Linked DNA regions of Homo sapiens: region 1 is linked to region 2. Evidence: promoter capture Hi-C in human tissues and cell types (Jung and others, 2019). All regions are on one chromosome and are shown on one strand. The core of a region is centred on a gene start or on the middle of the fragment in contact, and the rest is flanking DNA. Distances in the headings are between cores, read along the strand shown.

What was found. Contacts are between HindIII fragments. The study calls those that stand out against the background at their distance.
Region 1: a fragment that was not itself captured here is called in contact with the fragment with the promoter of TUBG2 in region 2 in 9 of the 25 tissues and cell types used here (H1 embryonic stem cells, IMR-90 fibroblasts, adrenal gland and 6 more).

The regions. Positions count from the first base shown.
Region 1 is chr17:42,585,003-42,589,064 of GRCh38, reverse strand. RETREG3 (reticulophagy regulator family member 3) reads left to right here. Exons shown (of 9, transcript NM_178126.4): 3 at 1,201-1,231; 4 at 2,174-2,300; 5 at 2,928-3,012; 6 at 3,803-3,940. Among named protein-coding and RNA genes, the nearest start is that of PSMC3IP, 9.3 kb to the right of the region's middle. The HindIII fragment of the contact is 8,959 bases long and covers 1-4,062 here.
Region 2 is chr17:42,657,475-42,661,511 of GRCh38, reverse strand. It overlaps TUBG2 (tubulin gamma 2), which reads right to left and starts at 2,228. Exons shown (of 11, transcript NM_016437.3): 1 at 1,960-2,228; 2 at 1,566-1,678; 3 at 1,196-1,363; 4 at 805-873. The coding sequence starts at 2,008. RefSeq lists enhancers at 2,012-2,081, 2,132-2,201, 2,212-2,271, 1,629-2,396. The HindIII fragment of the contact is 23,957 bases long and covers 79-4,037 here.

The DNA of each region.
Region 1 (4,062 bases), core at 741-3,240, 72 kb after region 2:
AACTCCTGGGCTCAAGTGATCCTCCTGCCTCAGCCCCCCAAGGAGGCAGAACTATAAGTGAGCATCACTACACCTAGCTCTGGGTCTCTTTTTAAAGAGAACAGGCAGGCTGGGTGTGGTGGCTCACACCTGTAATTCCAGCACTTTAGGGAGGCTATGGTGGGTGGATCACCTGAAGTCAGGAGTTCAAGACCAGCCTGGCCAACATAGCAAAAACCTGTCTCTACTAAAAACACAAAAATAGCCAGGCGTGGTGGCAGGTGCCTATAATCCCAGCTACTTGGGAGGCTGAGGCAGGAGAATTGCTTGAACACCAGAGGTGGAGGTTGTAGTGAGCCAAGATCGTGCCACTGCATTCCAGCCTGGGTGACAGAGTGAGATTCTGTCTCAAAAAAATAAAGAGAACAGGCAGATTTCGGCTGGGTACGGTAGCTCACGCCTGTGATGCCAGCACTTTGGGAGGTGGAGGAGTTCGAGAGCAGCCTGGCCAACATGGTGAAACCCCATCTCTACTAAAAACACAAAAATTAGCCAGGTATGGTGGCGTGTGCCTGTAATCCCAGTTACTCGGGAGGCTGAGTGAGCTGAGATCACGCCACTGCACTCCAGCCTGGGCTACAGAGCAAGACCCTGTCTCCAAAAAAAAAAAAAATTAGCCGGGCATTGTGGTGGGTGCCTGTAGTCCCAGCTACTCAGGAGGCTGAGGCAGAAGAATGGGAGGCGGAGCTTGCAGTGAGCCAAGATCGTGCCACTGCACTCCAGGCTGGGCAACAGAGCGAGAAGACTCTGTCTCAAAAAAAATAAACACAACAGGTGGATTTCTAGGGTTGGAGTTGTTACAACGTACCTTGTGTAGCCTGGCACAGATTGATGTGTATGGGTATCCCAGACACACTCAAGGGGTGAGATGGACCATTTTTCTTGTACACCTTGGCTTTCAGCTGAGGTCATTAGAAGGGGGCTCAAATAGTCCATTTGGACCTCCCTTCCTTCCCCTCGAAAAATGAGTAGGCATAAGTGATTATTCCCTTGTCTGCAGCTCCCTAACTGGCAGTATAACACAGTGTCTCCTTTTTTATCGGCTATTACTGTTTTCTTTTCCCCAACCTATTAAAACTTGAGCTGTCAGACCAACAGCCTAACATTTTCATGTTTAGTTTTCCCTACCAACTAATGCTGGTGTTTGTTTTAATATTGTAGTGCCAAGACCCGACGCATTAGACAATGAGAGGTATGGAACACTAATTAAATCCCTTTTTGTTGCTCTGATTCATTCTCTTGTAATATTCTGGTTACATGTTGTTAACCCCATGTTCTGGACACACAGTGTAAACTGAGAACCTAGGCTGTTCCAAATGATCATTTTAACACATCCTAAAGTTCAGGCAGCAATATGTTGAGATGGCCTGTGTCCTCTGATCTTTACAAGAGAAGTTTCTGAAAAAGAAGCATTACAGTGCCCCATAACCTGACATGCCAGGGAATCAGCTGCATTATTCAGTCCCAGTGAGAAAACTTAAAGGCAGCTAACTTCATTTGTCTCCTGGCTTTTATACCAGGTCATTTAGTGTTTTCTGTGACCTCTGGCTATTTAAAGTTCCCGGTCAGAAAACACATTGGTTCCTGGCATCAGCAAGTCAAAGCCAAAGATTCCTCTTGTGTCTTACAGCTCCTGCTTTCATTTCTCAGTTCATCCACTCCATTTGTTTGATCCAAAGAATTTTCTCTGCTGTGGTTTATTTTGGTTTTGCTTTATTTATTTTCTTTCTAAGGGGCACATCCACCATTTCCTCCCCCTTAGCAGCAGTGGTGTCAGTCAGACTATGCTCACTTTTATCCCTGGATTGCAATCACAGGGAATTGGAATGGTCTGAGTGCAAGGAAGAAAACGTTTCTAAGCACAAAGGGCCTTGGAGCTGGGGACAGGTTTACACACGTGGATTGGGCTGCTTGCTCATAGGGTGGAGTTGTCAGAACAAGTTTGTCCTCCTTGTACCTAAATTCAGATTTCAACCTGGTGAGCCAAGAAGAAAGTCATGCTTCACCTCCAAAGCACCTGGGCCTAGTCACTCCCCAAACCCCATTTAAAACCGGAAGCACTGGCTGCCTGCACAGCAAGATGGGGGGACCCTCAACACCCTCCTTTCACAGCTCCCCCTTCTCTCTCCCATAGCTGGGGCTTTGTGCACCCTCGGTTGCTCAGCGTGCCCGAGCTCTGCCACCATGTAGCTGAAGTCTGGGTTAGTGGGACCATTTTCATAAGGAATGTTTTGCTTTTCAAAAAGCAAAACCCAGGCAAGGTAAGACTCTTCCCTTTTTCACTTTCATCTCTGGCCTCTCAGTTCAGTTCATGCTAAACTGAAACAGCTCCTTTACTATGTGTCTTCATTCAAGAAAGTAAAGACTATGATGTTCATAGAGACAAAAGGAAGCTATAGGAAAGGCCTTCTGACCAGCCATTAGGACTAACACAGGAGCTTGGTGACTGCTCATTTGGTGTGGTTGCCACTTAGATGAGGCCGTTTTCTTGCTTCAAGATAGGAAAGAAAGCTTTCTTGTGTACATTCTGTGTCATATTAAATATGTGATAGGTTGTTGTGTTTTTTTGGGTTTTGTGTGTGTTTCTGTTGACTTAAAAAACCACCACCAACATTGCTTTCAGAGAGAATTTTTGGCTAAGTCCTATTCAAACCAATTTCTTGGCAGGAAAGGTGCAGCCCTATGGGGTTAGCCATGTAAAAGGAGTTTGAATAGAAGGGGACATGCTCCTTTTCTTCCCAAACAGAATCACCTTTGGATGCAACAGTGGCTGCACGTCCATGCTTGACTTACAGAGTCTTTCTGTCATATCTCTACCCTAACCCTTCACACCCACCCCAGTCCCCTGCCATGTGACAGAAACTTAATACTCTTTCTTGATTCCCCAGTTCTGCTTGCTGAGCTGTGGGATACTGACCTTTTTGGCTGTCTTGGGCCGCTACGTCCCTGGGCTTCTGCTGTCCTACTTGATGCGTAAGTATGACATATACCTCCCCTACAAAGTATACCCTGCTCATAGCTTTCCAACTATGGCTAACTCTAGGTGTGGGGAGAGGACTGTTATATTTCAATTCTCTAGGATATGACCTTTGCATATTTTCATGACCTGTTTAGTGTCATGAAAATATCCTTCTTTAGCAGGCTCTCCACATACAAAGTTCATTTCTTACCAAGTCAGAAATTGATGAGGGTCCACTAACATATATTGTTGGTATTACCAACTATAAAGGACTGCCTGTCCCTGTTTAAGGAGAGAATTTTTAGAGCCAGGGTATTGTCAGCAGAACATAACTCTTAGGGGTTTCTCTGCTAGGTTCTATTTATGCCAGAGTACTTTTTTCCCACTTGGAGCATAGTTTTGTAAATTTAGTTACTTCCTGTTGGCATGTACTCAGCTTGCTTGGGGCTGGAAGAACTAAGTACTTATGCCTGTGGCTTTTGTATATCAAAACCTCGCATGATTTGTTGTGTAATTTCCATTTATGGCTCAGTGACACCCATTGCCAGGTTCTGCCCTTGGCCTGTCAGCAGCATACTGTGCTGTGCACAACCCTGCAGTAGGCTTTGTGGGTGGCTGTAGAAGTCCCTGCCCTCAAAGACTCCTTCATGTGTAGGGGAGACTGGTGAAGATGACTGGCAGACTTGGGCAGATCTGTTCCACACTTTGTGTCCAAGCCCTAAGGACCAATAGCAGCGCTACAGTTGGGAATGTTTTTTGCAGCCCCTTCTCCATTTTGTCACTGTTTCCCATGCCTCCTCACAGTTGTCACTGTCATGATGTGGCCCCTTGCTGTGTACCACCGACTGTGGGATCGAGCATATGTGCGGCTGAAGCCAGCTCTGCAGCGGCTAGACTTCAGTGTCCGTGGCTACATGATGTCCAAGCAGAGAGAGAGACAATGTAAGTGTCATGGTGTCATTCTTTCCACTTACGCAATTTGGGGCGAAAAGGAGAAGCCCATAGGTCTGACATACTGGGTGGGTCCTCAAAAGTGGAAGTCGGGGGTAGTTGGTGGGGGTGAG
Region 2 (4,037 bases), core at 979-3,478:
GCTCTACTCAATCTTCATCCCCTCTCCCTTCCCCAGAGGTGAGGGGTGGGCCTGTAAATTCCAACCCTCAGAGCACCAGGTTTGTTCCCCTGGCAACCAGCCCCCCATCCAGTGGCTATCTGGGACTTTCCAAAAATCGCCTCTTTAACATAAGCTCAGGTTTGGTTGAAAGGCACTTGTTCCTCCTTAGTACAGTGGTTAGTAAAATTAACTAATTAAAATAAAATGAAAGATTAAACTAAAAGAAACGGGCTTGTTATAAATAACAAAAGACTGTCTTTCACCTTTATCACTCTGGAGCTGTTCTGGAGCTGTTTCAGAAACCAAGGACAAAAGGTCAAATATTTTAACAAAACATACTATTATTGCTCTAGTCCCTTAGGAAATTACATGGGTTATAAGAGCTGTAAGCCAGGAACATATCGCACCCAGCATGGGGAGAGATGGAGAGGCAGTCTCCAAGGATCTGGGGGAGAGACTTCGGCTTGGTTCATTCTCCATTCCCAAAACGCCAATGTCTCAAAGCTTCCTCTTATGCATCCAGGCTGAGGCTCCTTGGGAAGGTTTGGAGCTGGAGAAGCAGCTGAATGACTCATGCCTAAGGGGCCGGTGCCATTCAGATTTATGACTTCCTTGAGAACAAAGATTATATCTTATTCACCTCAATATCCCACATCTGATGCTCCATAAACGGGTTTTGAATTGAATTGCTCCCCTCATATTACCTATCCAGGCCACCTCCTGACCTGTCCCCAGCACTCTTCGGCCTCCCTGCCCATTCCTTCCCCCACTCCATAACTTCACCTCCAAACTGTCACTTCCATCTGCTTCTCGGTCTATGATGTCAAAGATGTCTTCATGAATTTTCTCACCCTGTATAGAGATATGGAAAGGGAGGGTCAGGCCAAAGGTTCCAGAGAGCATCTTTTCTCAGCACAGCACCAAGAATTCTGTCTACCCTGGAATATTGTTGCCACCCTGAAGCAGAGCCTAGGCTGTAGCCCTCAACCCAGAAGTGCTACTATTGCAAATGATTTGCACAAAATTTGCATAAACCTCTCCCTGGCTGTCCCTCTTGTTCGGGACATCCTTTTGTCTCTTATTTTCTGTCAGTCAGGTCAAATTCCTAGTAGCTTGAGCCTGCCTTGCCTCTGGATGGGAATATCAAAGGTCTCTGGAATGGTCGCTAGGACACCTGGGAGAATCCGCTGGCCCAGTTGTTGCCAGCTCCTCCTCCATGTTCCGACAGGTAGATGTTCTCTGGGTTGTAGAGCTTGGCATAGGGGGAGTTGAGGATGGAGTGGATCACCCGGGGTTCCAAGTCCAGCAGCACGGCCCGGGGGATGTAGTGCTCATCGTCTGCCTGTCAAGGGGAGTCCAGGAGGGGGCCCAATCAGCTAGGGCGGCCCAAGTCCGAAGTCCTCCCAACTCTGGCTCCCTCCGGCCCTCCCTCCTCAAGCCAGCCGCCTGGCCCTACTGCCCAGCGGGGTTCCCAGTACCAGGCCACTCCCTTCCCTTCCGCCCCCTTGGGCCACTGCCGCCCCCGGCCAAGTCGCTGGGGGCACCTGGTAGAAAAAGACGTCCTTGCGGTCAGTGCCCTCGGTGGCGAATTCCTCCACGATGCCCTCGGGGCTGATACCATGCTCGGCGCACAGCTGTTTCCAGAACTCGAACCCAACTGGGGGAGGGGGGAGATGCCCGGGTCTGCTGGAGCCTTAAGGCCTGAGGAGCCCAGTTTTAGTCTCAGAGGCTGACACGATCAGAGGGTGGACCCAAGATGCCTGGGTTTGGTAGCTGCCCCAGCCCCGGGCTGGAGGCGCAGCTCTCGGTCTGGGTTATCCAGAGCAGCAGGGCAGGGGGTTCATGGAAGGGAAAGGGGGACTGGTGGAAGCCAGGCACTTGGGTGGGACCCGAAGGGGCAGAACCAGAGACCGGCGGGGCCGGCGCTCGCTTGCTCACTCTGGTTGCCGCACTGGCCCAGCTGCAGGGTGATGATCTCCCGGGGCATCGCTCTTCAGACGTGGGCGCGCCAGCCCCGGCCTGGCGAGAGTCACGGCTGAGACGAATGCCCGGCAGCCAGGAGCGCAGGACGTGGGGAGCGCGCGCTCTCTTCGCCTCTTGACGCGGATGCTCGGTCTGCGCGTGTGCAGCGCAGGCCTCTCCTCGGCCGGTGGGCCGGGGAGCCCAACCTGGGCATCATTTTCTCCCTCAGCAGTCGCAGCTGGAATTCCGCACAGGCGCAGAGTCAGGCCACGCCCGCTCCTGCCCACCGCTCCGCGCCTGCGCAGTGAGACTCGTTGGGGGTGGCAGGGTCGGAACCTGGATGTGTTGGGGAGGAGAGGAACGGGGGAGGGGAGGAAAGGGGAGAAGCGGCCAGGTGGATGTGCTTGTCCACGTGTAAGGAGTCATCTACCTATATTGGTAGGTGAGGACACTGTCAGCTTTGCTAGATCAAAGGGCTAGAAGCCAACTTTTCTTCGTTTAAATTTCTGTTTTTTAATGGTGTTACAATACATACACATGTATGTTACCTTTTTATTTTTTAGAAGGGTCTCGCTCTGTCGCCCAGGCTGGAGTGCAGTGGCGCGATCATAGCTCACTGTAGCCTTGAACTTCTGGCTTAAGTGATCCTCCCACTTCAGTCTCCCGAGTAGCTGGGACTACAGGCGTGTGCTACCACGCCCAGCTAATTTTTAAATTTTTAAAATGTATTTTTATAGAGATGGGGATCTCACCGTGTTGCCCAAGATGGTCTTAAACTACTGGCCTCAATCAATCCTCCTGCCTTGGCCTCCCAAAATGCTGGGATTACAGGCATGAGCCACCACTCCTGGCCTAAATTTACCATTGTAACCATTTGTAAGTACTGCATACAGTTCTGTGGCACCAAGTACACTCACATTGTTCTGTAACCACCACCACCATTCTTTTCTAGAACTTTCTTATCTTCCCAAACTGAAACTCTATCGCGATTAAACAGTAACTTCCCCTTGACTACTCTAGGCACCTGATATGAGTGGAATTATACAGTATTTGTCTTTTTGGGTCTGGCTTCTTTCACTTAACATAATATCTTCAAGATCCTTCCATTTCGTAGCATGTGTCAGAATTTCCTTCCTTTTTACAACTGAATAATATTCCATTGTATAGATGTACCACATTTTGCATAACCATTCATCCCTCCATGGACATTTGGGTTGCTTCCACCTTTTGGCTATTGTGAATGTTGCTGCTTTGAATGTGAGTGTACAAATATCTGTTCGAGTCCCTGCTTTCAATTATTTTGGATATACACCCAGAGGTAGAATTGCTGGATCATATGGTAATTGTGTTTAATGTTCTGAGGAATCGCCATACGATTTTCCATGGTAGCTGCACCATTTTAAATTCCCACCAGCAATGCACAAGGGTTCAGTTAAATAAATTTTATAGGAGGCCATTGATTTGCACTGAGCTCCTGTGCTTGGCTCAACAGACCAAACCAAAATGGAGTCACTCACGCTAAAGTTCTATGTCACTAAGCAACACTAAGTTGTTTATCAAACCTTCAGAGGAATCAGGAGAGGGAAGGAAGAGCCAAAACCCCAAACAAGCCAGTGTGAGCCGGCATGATACGGAAGTCCTTTTACAAGAAAAGTAACTTTGAAAGGACCCATCTGCTTTTTTTCCTTCTGTTTCTATTTTTCTCTACCCTTTTTTGTCCATAAAAACTAACCTGTGCTTGACTCATCTGAACACTCATTCTATTTATTTTATGGAATGAAACGTAGCCTGATCTAGAATCACAAACACTGTAAATGCCACTTAAGATTTTTTTTTTTTTTTGAGACTAAGTCTCACTCTGTTGCCCAGGTTGGAGTGCAGTGGCATGATCTCGGCTCACTACAACCTCTGCCTCTCTCAGGTTCAAGCGATTCTCCTGGCTCAGCCTCCCTAGTAGCTGAGATTACAGGTGTGCACCACCACACCCGGCTAATTTTTTTGTATTTTCAGTAGAGACAGGGGTTTTGTCATGTTGCCCGGACTGGTCTCGAACC